2 separate regions of the Homo sapiens genome follow, and region 2 is linked to region 1. Evidence: promoter capture Hi-C in 16 types of primary human blood cells and fetal thymus (Javierre and others, 2016). All regions are on one chromosome and are shown on one strand. Each heading gives the region's core, a stretch centred on a gene start or on the middle of the fragment in contact. The rest is flanking DNA. Distances are from core to core; before and after follow the strand shown. Region 1 holds the start of CDAN1 (codanin 1). Region 2 holds the start of CCNDBP1 (cyclin D1 binding protein 1).

Region 1 (5,157 bases), core at 1,342-3,841:
TTGAACTGTTCATCAGCCAAAGTAGTCCACTGAGGTGACAAAGCTTTCAGAAATACAAAGATGGGAAGATAAAGGTAACACTGGCCCACTTGGGGCTTTGACATTGGATTGGGTGGACTGAATAAACACAGCCTAGGTGGCCTGGGCTTGAGCCTCACTTACTTCTCCTTGATACATAGTTCCTGGTCTACCTTCTGACCCTTTTTCTAAAATAGCCAGTGTCTATTTCACTAGGCCATTTACTTACAAGTTCCCAGCTTTTAGGGAAAAAAGAGGGAGGGGGGAGCATCTAGTTTTGAATTAGATATACATCTTAGAAGTAATGAGCTATTGGCAGCTGTTAAATCAGATTCAGCCACAAACCAGAATTCTTTCTTGTTGAACAAGACCAATGAGTTAGATGACTTTAATAATTCCACTTTTCTCTCCCTCTCTTCTCCTCTTCCTGAAATCAGAGAGATGAGAAACTACTCTTTGAAATACCTCCAGAGGCGTTTTATTGTGTTCCTTTCCCCTCCAAGCAGCTCCCTTTATACAATTTTGCTCAGGCAACCAAGGACAGAGTATCGGCAGAAACATGGAGTGCTTTTGTATAGGCCACCTGTACATAAAAGTGTAATTATTTATTTAATTTTCCCATTTGTATCATATTAAAGCTTTGTACAGTGTTTTAAGTTCTGTTTTAAAATTATTTTGTATTTTATTTTTATAACCTAGTAATAAAATATTCATTCCGCATGCAAAATCTAGTTCTGTTTGTGTGATGGTCTGGATTTCAAAAGTGGAAAATATTTTTCTAATTTAATAAAGTTATTGAATACACCAGATGTTACAAGATCAACGGGGAGCAGATAGTGTTACTGTAAATGCAGTACCACATCTAGAAGTTCCCTAGAAAAAGCAGCCCAGGACTGAATAGAAGCTAGGTGTTAAGTGTCCCTGCAGTTAGGAGATGTTTTCCTGTAATAAAATTAAAATATTAAAAGCTCCTTTTTAGTCCATTATTCTGTCTGGCTGGAGGTACTTTTTCCTTCTCCATAGGAAATACCCCTTCTGCCACTAGAGAGATTCCTGCACCCCCACCCTCATCCTTCCGCCCGTAACCTTCCTTTGAACCAGAGCAACTCTCAGGAGGCATTCACAAGGGCACTGCCTCACCCCTCCTGGTTTGGTTTGACATGGAATGTTCGTGCCATCTGTTTTTCTCCGCTTGGATTCCCTTGCTTGATTTGTCACTGAGCAGCAACCTTCAAAATCCTCTCTCAGGTTTTTTTGTTTTGTTTTGTTTTTGAGATGGAGTCTCGCTCTGTCACCCAGGCTGGAGTGCAGTGGCGTGATCTTGGATCACTGCAACCTCCGCCTCCCAGGTTCAAGCGATTCTCCTGCCTCAGCCTCCCCAGTAGCTAGGACTACAGGCGCGTGCCACCACGCCCAGTTAATTTTTGTATTTTTATTAGAGACACGGTTTCACCATGTTGGCCAGGATGGTCTCCATCTCTCGACCTCGTGATCCGCCCACCTCTGCCTCCCACTGCATTCCAGCCCCGGGGGTGACAGAGCGAGACTCCATCTCAAAATAAAATTAAATAAAGGAGATTAAGAAATTACTCAGGCCGGGCGTGGTGGCCCACGCCTATAATCCCAGCACTTTGGATCTGCTGCCCTCTCCCGGCCAAAACATTAGCTGGGCTATAGCCCTAGGGAGGCTGAGTCGGGAGGATTGCTTGAGCCCAGGAGGCCAAGGCTGCAGTGAGCCGTGCTCACGCCACTGCACTCCAGCCTGGGCAACAGAGCAAGACCCTGTCTCAAAAAAAACAAAACAAAAACAAAAAACACCAAACCCAAAAATACAAACCTCAAGCTCCCAGAAGCTAATCATGATATGCTTACTGACATCTAAACTGCAAAGTAGTTGAAATATTAACCTCATGTAAACCCACTTAAGTAAATAAAGCTACATACAAGCAATTCTGTGTGCAGGGTGGCCCGAGGCACTTTAAGGGTTGTGGCTTGGGGATTATTAAGAACCTCCTAGAAATAATTCTTTCCTAAATGGTCAGTTGATGGTGAGCGCTGAAAAGCCGATGGGTACTGCTCGGCCAAGGGATTGAAAAATCGGCCTTTGAGAAGAACAAAGTCAAAATGAAAGATTAGATTATAATTTCTCTGGGGTGGTGCCAGTTGGATCTAGGAAACTTAAACTCGTGAAAGAATGTGCTTAGAGCAGAAGATAGAAGCTGGTGGCTGTCTCTGCTCCCCTCTACCTCTCTCCCGGGTCCTGGGTCTCCCTAGAGGGGCGTCCGACCCGCGGCAGCCCCACTCCCAGCTCGAATCCCTCCCTTCAGGTCGCTCCAGGGCGGGCAGCCAAGGTGGGCCTCCCCAGGCGCTGTGATCCACATTTCACCTCCTAACAACCGGCCTCTCGGCCGGGGTTGAGGACTCAGCGAGGCCTTGACTCCGTGGGTCTGGGCAACAGCCGGCTCCGCCCCGCCCCGCCAGCCGGGTCCCTCCCCATCCCGCGACCCAACGGTCGTTCCCCGCCGCCGGCCCCGCCCCTCCCTGGCCGCCCGCGGCGCGCCGGCGCCTGCGCAGTCGCCCCAGAGCGCCCCGACCGGGATGGCGGCCGTTTTGGAGTCGCTGCTGCGAGAAGAGGTGTCGGTCGCAGCCGTCGTGCGGTGGATCGCGCGCAGCACCCAGGGTTCGGAGGTAACAGCGGTGACACGCCCCCAGGTCTGACTCGAAGCCGGTTCCCGCAGTGGAGTCCAGCCCTCCAGTCCCCTTCCTCTAGGGCGCCTGGCTGCCAGCCGGGCCGAGTGCACTCCAACTGGGCGCCGCTGCCCGGGCCGCCCACCCGAGGCGCGCCCTACGGCCCCGGCTGCTCACGGCCCGCGGGCCGGCGGCTGACCCTCTCGCCCCTCCACCTGTGCTTCTGCCCTAGGATAACGCTGGGGAGGCGGCCGCGCTGAGCTCACTCCGGGCCCTGCGGAAAGAATTCGTACCGTTCCTGTTGAACTTCCTGAGGGAGCAGAGCAGCCGCGTCCTCCCGCAGGGGCCCCCGACCCCCGCCAAGACCCCGGGCGCCTCGGCAGCCTTGCCAGGGAGGCCGGGAGGCCCGCCGCGGGGTAGCCGCGGGGCGCGCAGCCAGCTTTTCCCTCCGACCGAGGCCCAGAGCACCGCTGCCGAGGCCCCTCTGGCCCGCCGCGGGGGCAGGAGGCGGGGCCCGGGGCCGGCCCGCGAGCGTGGAGGCCGCGGCCTGGAGGAGGGGGTCAGCGGGGAGAGCCTGCCCGGAGCCGGGGGCCGGAGGCTTAGGGGCTCTGGCAGCCCCAGCCGCCCCAGCCTCACGCTGTCTGATCCGCCAAACCTCAGCAACCTGGAGGAGTTCCCTCCCGTAGGCTCGGTTCCCCCCGGCCCTACAGGGTGAGACTCAGCTCTCATGCAGGAGATGGGTACCACGAAGGCTCTGGGGAGTCAGTCATTCGAGCTCGGCGCTCCGCAGTGGAGCGCCAGGATGGGTAGAAGGCTGGGGGTGATGGTGAGGGTTTTTGTGGGGTTTTTTGGCAAGAGGTCTAGCTGTTGCGGTGGTGGAGGGGAGATGTTTGAAGATAGGAATTTGAGAAAAACCTGTGGCTACTCTCAGCAGGACGAAGCCTTCTCGCAGGATCAACCCAACTCCGGTGAGCGAAGAGCGGTCACTCTCCAAGCCCAAGACCTGCTTCACCTCACCCCCAATCAGCTGTGTCCCCAGTTCCCAACCCTCAGCCCTGGACACTAGCCCTTGGGGCCTTGGCCTTCCCCCAGGGTGCAGAAGTCTGCAAGAGGAGCGAGAGATGCTCAGGAAGGAGCGGTATGGCCTGGCCGCTCCTGGGGATATCGGTTTCCTCGCTGTGGGGGATCTTCAGGGGTTTTCCCTGAAATTGATTTCCCTCTTGGGGACTCTGGGTTTGTCTCCTGGGCTGTTGGTATCTTCTCTGGAGTGACCTGAGTGTGGCCGTAGCAGGGAAGCCAAGCTGACTGCTCATGAAATTTCTTTATTCCATAGCTCTAAGCAGCTGCAGCAGTCACCTACCCCCACCTGTCCCACCCCAGAATTGGGGTCGCCCCTCCCCAGCCGGACAGGAAGCCTCACAGATGAACCTGCAGACCCTGCCAGAGTGTCTTCCCGCCAGCGCCTGGAGCTTGTAGCCCTTGTTTACTCCTCGTGCATTGCTGGTGAGTGAGAGCGGAGGGAGCGGGAGTGGAGACACTTGTAGAACTTATGGGTAAGAGAATTGGTAAGGCACTTGGAACTGAGCCTTGGCTCCAAATGGTGCCCATACCATGGGCTTTCTTTTTGTATCTATCTAGAGAACCTGGTACCAAACCTCTTCTTGGAGCTTTTCTTCGTCTTTCAGCTCCTCACTGCCCGGAGGATGGTGACTGCCAAGGACAGCGACCCTGAACTAAGTCCAGCTGTCCTAGGTCAGTGAGCAAGCCTCCTTTTGAGACATGGGGTCTAGAAACGGGACCGTTCTTAACTGACAGCTTGGTACTGTCCTTCTAGATTCCCTGGAAAGTCCACTGTTCCAAAGCATCCACGATTGTGTCTTCTTTGCAGTGCAGGTTTTGGAGTGTCACTTTCAGTGAGTTTCCCTGGCTGAGGCATTTGGGCCTCATTCTCATCATCTGCTTAGCTCTCTGGCTGCTTGGGATATATGCTGGTGCTTAACACAGGGGCAGTGGTCCTGGACCTTCTCCTACCTATAATCTTTCTTTAATTTTGTGTTAAGGCTATGAATGTAGTCCCTGAAAGAATTGAGATCGGGCCAGGTGTGGTGGCTCACGCCTGCATTCCCACCACTTTGAGAGGCCGAGGCAGGACAGTGACTTAGGCCCAGGAGTTTTAGACCAGCCTGGGCAACATGACAAAATCCCATCTCCACCAAAAAAAAAAAAAAAAAAAGGCCGGGTGTGGGGGAGTGCGCCTATAATCCCAGCTACTTAGGAGGCTGAGGTGGAAGGATCTCCTGAGCCTGGGAGGTCCAGGCTGTAGTGAGATCACGCCACTGCAGCCTGGGTGACGCCCAGCCCAGCCTGGGTGACAGAGACCCCCATCTCAAAAAAAAAGAAAAAGAAATGGACCCCTGTGGTCTTGGCAGCTGAGCTTTGGTTTCTGGGTAA
Region 2 (5,157 bases), core at 1,160-3,659, 450 kb before region 1:
TATGAGTGAAACTACTGTCCTGAGCATGTATAGAAAATCAGTTCTATGCTGCCTCCTTGTGGTATCTTACTTGCAGTGAGTTTTAGCAGCAAGTCCTAAGTGCATTTGAAAGAAAGGGGTTAGCAGATAAGAAAAATAAGGTAATATTAACTACTCTTTTTGAAATAAGTATTTTCCATGAATCTTTTGAAGTGCTCTCATACAATTCATCTCTTGTTTCCTCATCACAAATCTCAAAGGTAGGCCAGGCACGGTGGCTCACACCTGTAATCCCAACACTGTGGGAGGCCAAGGCAGGCGGATCACTTGAGGTCAGGAGTTCGAGACTAGCCTGCCCAACATGGTGAAACCCCGTCTCAACTAAAAATACAAAAATTAGCCAGGCGTGGTGACAGGTGCCTGTAATCCCAGCTACTCGAGAGGCTGAGGCAGGAGAACTGCTTGAACCCGGTAGGCAGAGGATGCAGTGAGCCCAGACTGTGCCACTGCACTCCAGCCTGAGTGACAGAGAGAGACTCTGTCTCAAAAAAAAAAAAAAAATCTCAAAGGTATGTAGGAGGAGAGAGTTTATCACTGTAGGTACATGCAGCAGAAGATATTTATATCCTTTCCAAACACCTATATATGTAGACTGAAAAATTAAAACAATTGACTATGAAAATCAAATAAGGCAATGAATATGCCATTTTAAAAGAATCTTACTCCTATATTAAGCATACACAACTCTAGAAAAACTGAGCATAGAGCATACGTGGTCATAGCCAACATGTTTACTTTCATTAGTTTTATAATAAAGGAATATTTAAAATGCATAAATCTTTGTTCTAGCAATTCTACTTCCGGGAATTTTTTCTACCAATATACACACATACACAGAATTAGGTAATTCATCACGACACTGTTTGCAGTAATTCTAAGTTGGAAGGTCCAGAACAGTGTTTATGTATCATTTGTGTAAAAAGAAGCTGACACATACAGATAAATGTATATGAATGTATATATGCACAGAATATACGTGGAATAATGCAAAAGGAACTGGGGGAGACAAAAATGAGAAAGTGGGTGGAAAGGTAAACTTAACACACTTTGATATCTGTTGAATTTTGTACTATCTACATATGTTACTGATTAAATATAAAAAATAATATAAAAAGGGTATTATGCAGTATAACAGAATAGGTAGCTTAGACATCAGATAGACCTTGATTTAAATTCTAGCCCCCCTGCTTTTTTTTAAATCTTAAGCTGAGCTTCTGAGCCTCCTTGCTCATCTGTCAGATGGCCATCAAGTATGTGAAAACACCCAGCAAATAAAAAGTGCTTAAAAAATTATCAGAAGGGAAACAACCAGGATAAACTTCAGACTGAACCAATATTTATAAGACCTGCCTACTCCGCGCCAGGAACTGCACTTGGCAATTCGGTCTTCACAACAATCCTGTGAAGTAAAAACGGTAACCTCACTGGACAGATGAAGAAAAGAAATCTCCTGGCGTGCGTGCAAAAGGTGGAAAGAAAATTAGAGGATTCCTAAGGTGTAACTCGGCAGCCCAAGGATTCCACGAAAGTGAAGCCCACCTGTGGAGACGGCAGTGGAAGCTGAGAGAAGACTATGGTCAGAGTCGTGGCTTCCCTTGACACAGTCACAGCTGCCTCATCTGGGGGGTGGCCGAAGAGGAGGCAGGTGCCAATACGTTAGTGCTGCACGGACTTGGAAGACTTCCCTTACCGACCGAGACTTCTCAAAAACACTTCCCGAATGTCGAGGTTAGAATTCTATTTCACCCTCTCAGGTGCTGAGGTGGGTAAGGTACCTCACAGAAAGGATGCAGCGGGGGAGAGCAGTCCCCTCCGTGGGGGACAGCGGGAGGAAAAGGGGTCGGGACGCTGGAGGAACTGAGGCAAGGGGAGCCCGGAAGGAGGCGCACTCACTGAGTCTTCTCCAGAACATCTCTCGATTAAACTCCTCGGTGGTCTCCTGGGCTTCGCCGACTTGTGGGTGTGGCGTGTGGGGGCCGAACGGTGGCGAATGGAAAAGCTGAGGTAAGCGGAGCCACCTCCCTCGCCCAAGCCCGGCTCCCCGCCGCCGCCCCAGCCCGCCCTCTCCGCGACCCCGAGCCCGGCCTCTCCCCGACCCCGAGCCCGGCCTCTCCCCGACCCCGAGCCCGCCCCTGCCGTCGCCCGTTCTAACTCCGTCAGCTCACCCCGCACTCGAGGCAGGAGCAACCGCAGCTCCTCCGCCAAGTGCCGGAGCTGCTCCAAAGGCGAAGCCAGGGTGGGGACTGCGGCTGCAGGTGCAGTTGCGCTCGCCATCTCAGTCGCTTGCCGAAGGCCGCAAACACAGGCCTCCGCTGCCACTGCCGGAGCCGCACTGCGACAGCCGCTCCACTTCCGGGCCACAGCGTCAAGGGCTCGTTTCCGTCAACAAGCCGTCCAGCCCCGTCCCAGAGGCCCTGCCCTGCCTCCTCCCGCCACGAGGCCCGGCCCCGCCCGAGGTCCAGCACCACCCATCCCGTTATCAGAGACCAGGCCTGGCCCCGCCTCCTCCCGCCCCGCCCTGTCCCCTGAGGTACAGCACCAACCATCCCACTCTCAGAGGCCAGGACAGGCCACGCCTTCTCTTGCCCCTTAGGCCAGGCTACACAAGCAAGCCTCAGGCTCACCGTCTTTCTTATTCATCATTCATTCATTTATTTGATTAGTTGAAAACACTTCCGACTAAGGAAGCAGAGAGCCCACAATCCTGTGGGAAAACAGGCCTGGGAACTAATATCTCAGGGGTAGTGAGGGTCGGGCCCAGATCCTCAAAGGTTCCCTGCCCCTGAAATTGCACCTTTGACAGCTGCTGAATTCCAAGCACAGCGGTAAGTGCTTTACATGGGGTAACCCTAAAAAACACACTGGGCCTCAGACACTCCCGTACACACACCCAACCTCTACCCTGTGGATGTCCTAGATAAGGGTTTTCTCTTCACAAAGGTAAATCAACTCTTTGCCTCCTTAGGGAGGGAAGGAATAAAGGCATTATTTTTGAGACTTTTCTGCAGTCCATTCTGCAGGTATCAGTAGTGGGTAATCCCTCCAACGTCCAGGACTCCAAACGAGCAGCTGCTCCCTAAAGCTCACCCACCAATCCTGGCCCTCCACCTGCTACTGGGGTAGAGGCCTGGGCTACAGACACAGAGGCTGGGCTTCTGCCCAGCTGCCAGTGGTGAGACATGGCCTTCAGGAGCTCAGGTGGCTTTTTAACTGCACCATGAAGATTCCAAACTTGGTGGAGTTCAGTGTCCACACATAACGAATGAGAACAGGTGTCAGCAGTGTCAACCAGGTCCGCAAAGGGGAGAATAAAAAAGCTAGGGTGCCGTATGTTGCATAAAGAAAGTAGCAGGAATAAACCTGCCAGATGTACAGCAGTAGCATAAGTAGGTGAACAGGCATAATTTTCAAGTATTTTCTTTGATGGAGATGAGACCTGAAGTTGTGACCAAAGCACCGCTGCAGCAAGCTCCAACACATGTAAGCCATCAAGGGGATGTTAAAAAACGCCAGCTGGAAAAGAACAGAACCATAGCTTACTCCCAAGTCCTTGGAAGAGTTTGGTCTTAATAATGCATTATTAGTGGATCCTAAGACTATGCTGCTATCTGTCTTGGCGTTAGCTAATTTACTTCAAGCACAGTTGCTTATAACACAACAGCTGACTTGTGGCTAGTTGTGTATTTGCCCATGTCCTTTTATTCATCTTAGAGGCAGGTATCATTTAATTTATGCTGAAGTCCCAACTTGTAGTACAGTATCATATACACAGTTAATACCCAATGGTGTTAAGCTGGAATTGAACTGAGTAAATGTATACACACACATACAACAACCCCTCTTTTTTGGTGGAGTGAGGGGAGGACTTGGCTATCAGTATTTTTTTTCTTACCTCCATTTTTGTTTGAGGTAGCATGATAAGTACTGGAATATAAATTAGAGTATCTAAATTATAATCCAAGTTGAGCTGCTGTATGATTCATTCATTTAACAAATATTTATTGAGCACCCATTATGTAGCAGGCATGAGCTAGGCTCCAAGTTGGGGACACAATGGCAAACAAGTTAGAAAAGGTCCGTCATAGAGCTTACATTCTAACAGGGAGAAGACAGACAAAAAAAAAAACCAAAAAATATAATTACAGATCGTGATTAGTTCAATGAAGGAAAGAACTGGGTCATGAGAAGGTAACTGGGAGAAAGGCTCTCAGAGGCCAGAAGGACAAGAATGAATCAGCGGAGGGAAGTGCATTCTAGGCAGAAGGAACAAATGAAAAGCCCAGAGGTGGGAGAGGTCTTGGCCTCTTTAAGGAAGTGCATGCAGAGCATGAGCCAGGTGGAAATTGGGGCAGTCGGCAGGACCCAGATCACTGCTCTGCTTCAAAGCATTTCAAGCTGAAAAGTAAGTGAGCTGATTGTAAAGTTTTTAAAAGAGCACACTGGATGCTCTGTATTAAGCTGAGAGTAAGGAGGCAAGAATATCAGGGAGAAGACCCAGGCAAGAAATAATTACAACTTAGATTAGGAAAACAGAAATGGAGAGAAGTGGATGGATTCAAGATATGCATTGGAAGCAGATCAAATAAGGTAGAGCTTGCTGGTGAAATAGATACAGGGTATGAAGGAAAGGGAATAATTGAGGATACATCTTGGAGAAATCAGGTGAATGGTGGAGTCATTTATTAAAACTGGAAAAACAGAGAGGAACAGGTTTGGGGTGGAAATAATGTTCCTATCAGAGAGACATCACATGAAGTTGAGATGCCTGTTAGACATCTGTGGCCATTGGATATAGAGGCACTTGAAGTGCAGAGAAGAGGTCTAGATCAGAGATATAGATTTGGGATTCATGGGTCTGGATGATACATAAAATCCATTATTAGTGTACTATTTATTAGAATATGAATGTAAACATTTACAAAGGAAAAAACCCTGCCTTTTGGTAAGGCTCAGGATTCATTTGGTATGAGAGAGCTCCTTAGAGACAGCCTCCATCAACATAATAGAAAACTGCAATGAGGCTGGGTGCAGTGGCTCACGCCTGTAATCCCAGCACTTTGGGAGGCCGAGACGGGCGGATCACCTGAGGTCAGGAGTTCGAGACCATCCTGGCCAACA

What was found. Contacts are between HindIII fragments. The CHiCAGO score rates a contact against its expected background, and 5 or more counts as called.
Region 2: a contact is called between the fragment with the promoter of CCNDBP1 here and the fragment with the promoter of CDAN1 in region 1, in 1 of 17 cell types (fetal thymus). The highest score is 6.4, in fetal thymus.

The regions. Positions count from the first base shown.
Region 1 is chr15:42,734,562-42,739,718 of GRCh38, reverse strand. CDAN1 (codanin 1) reads left to right here and starts at 2,591. Exons shown (of 28, transcript NM_138477.4): 1 at 2,591-2,706; 2 at 2,939-3,417; 3 at 3,641-3,844; 4 at 4,040-4,209; 5 at 4,345-4,458; 6 at 4,541-4,619. The coding sequence starts at 2,617. TTBK2 (tau tubulin kinase 2) reads left to right here. Exons shown (of 15, transcript NM_173500.4): 15 at 1-989. TTBK2-AS1 (TTBK2 antisense RNA 1) reads right to left here and starts at 601. Exons shown (of 3, transcript NR_186317.1): 1 at 484-601. RefSeq lists silencers at 2,405-2,654, 2,845-2,984, 3,075-3,364. The HindIII fragment of the contact is 7,008 bases long and covers 659-5,157 here.
Region 2 is chr15:43,182,655-43,187,811 of GRCh38, reverse strand. CCNDBP1 (cyclin D1 binding protein 1) reads right to left here and starts at 2,409. Exons shown (of 11, transcript NM_012142.5): 1 at 2,205-2,409; 2 at 1,933-1,992; 3 at 1,579-1,658. The coding sequence starts at 2,313. It overlaps TMEM62 (transmembrane protein 62), which reads right to left. Exons shown (of 14, transcript NM_024956.4): 14 at 2,668-3,552. The coding sequence ends at 3,226. It overlaps LOC124903478 (a long non-coding RNA gene), which reads left to right and starts at 1,925. Exons shown (of 2, transcript XR_007064604.1): 1 at 1,925-2,043. RefSeq lists an enhancer at 1,804-1,903 and silencers at 2,074-2,163, 2,384-2,683. The HindIII fragment of the contact is 8,824 bases long and covers 1-5,157 here.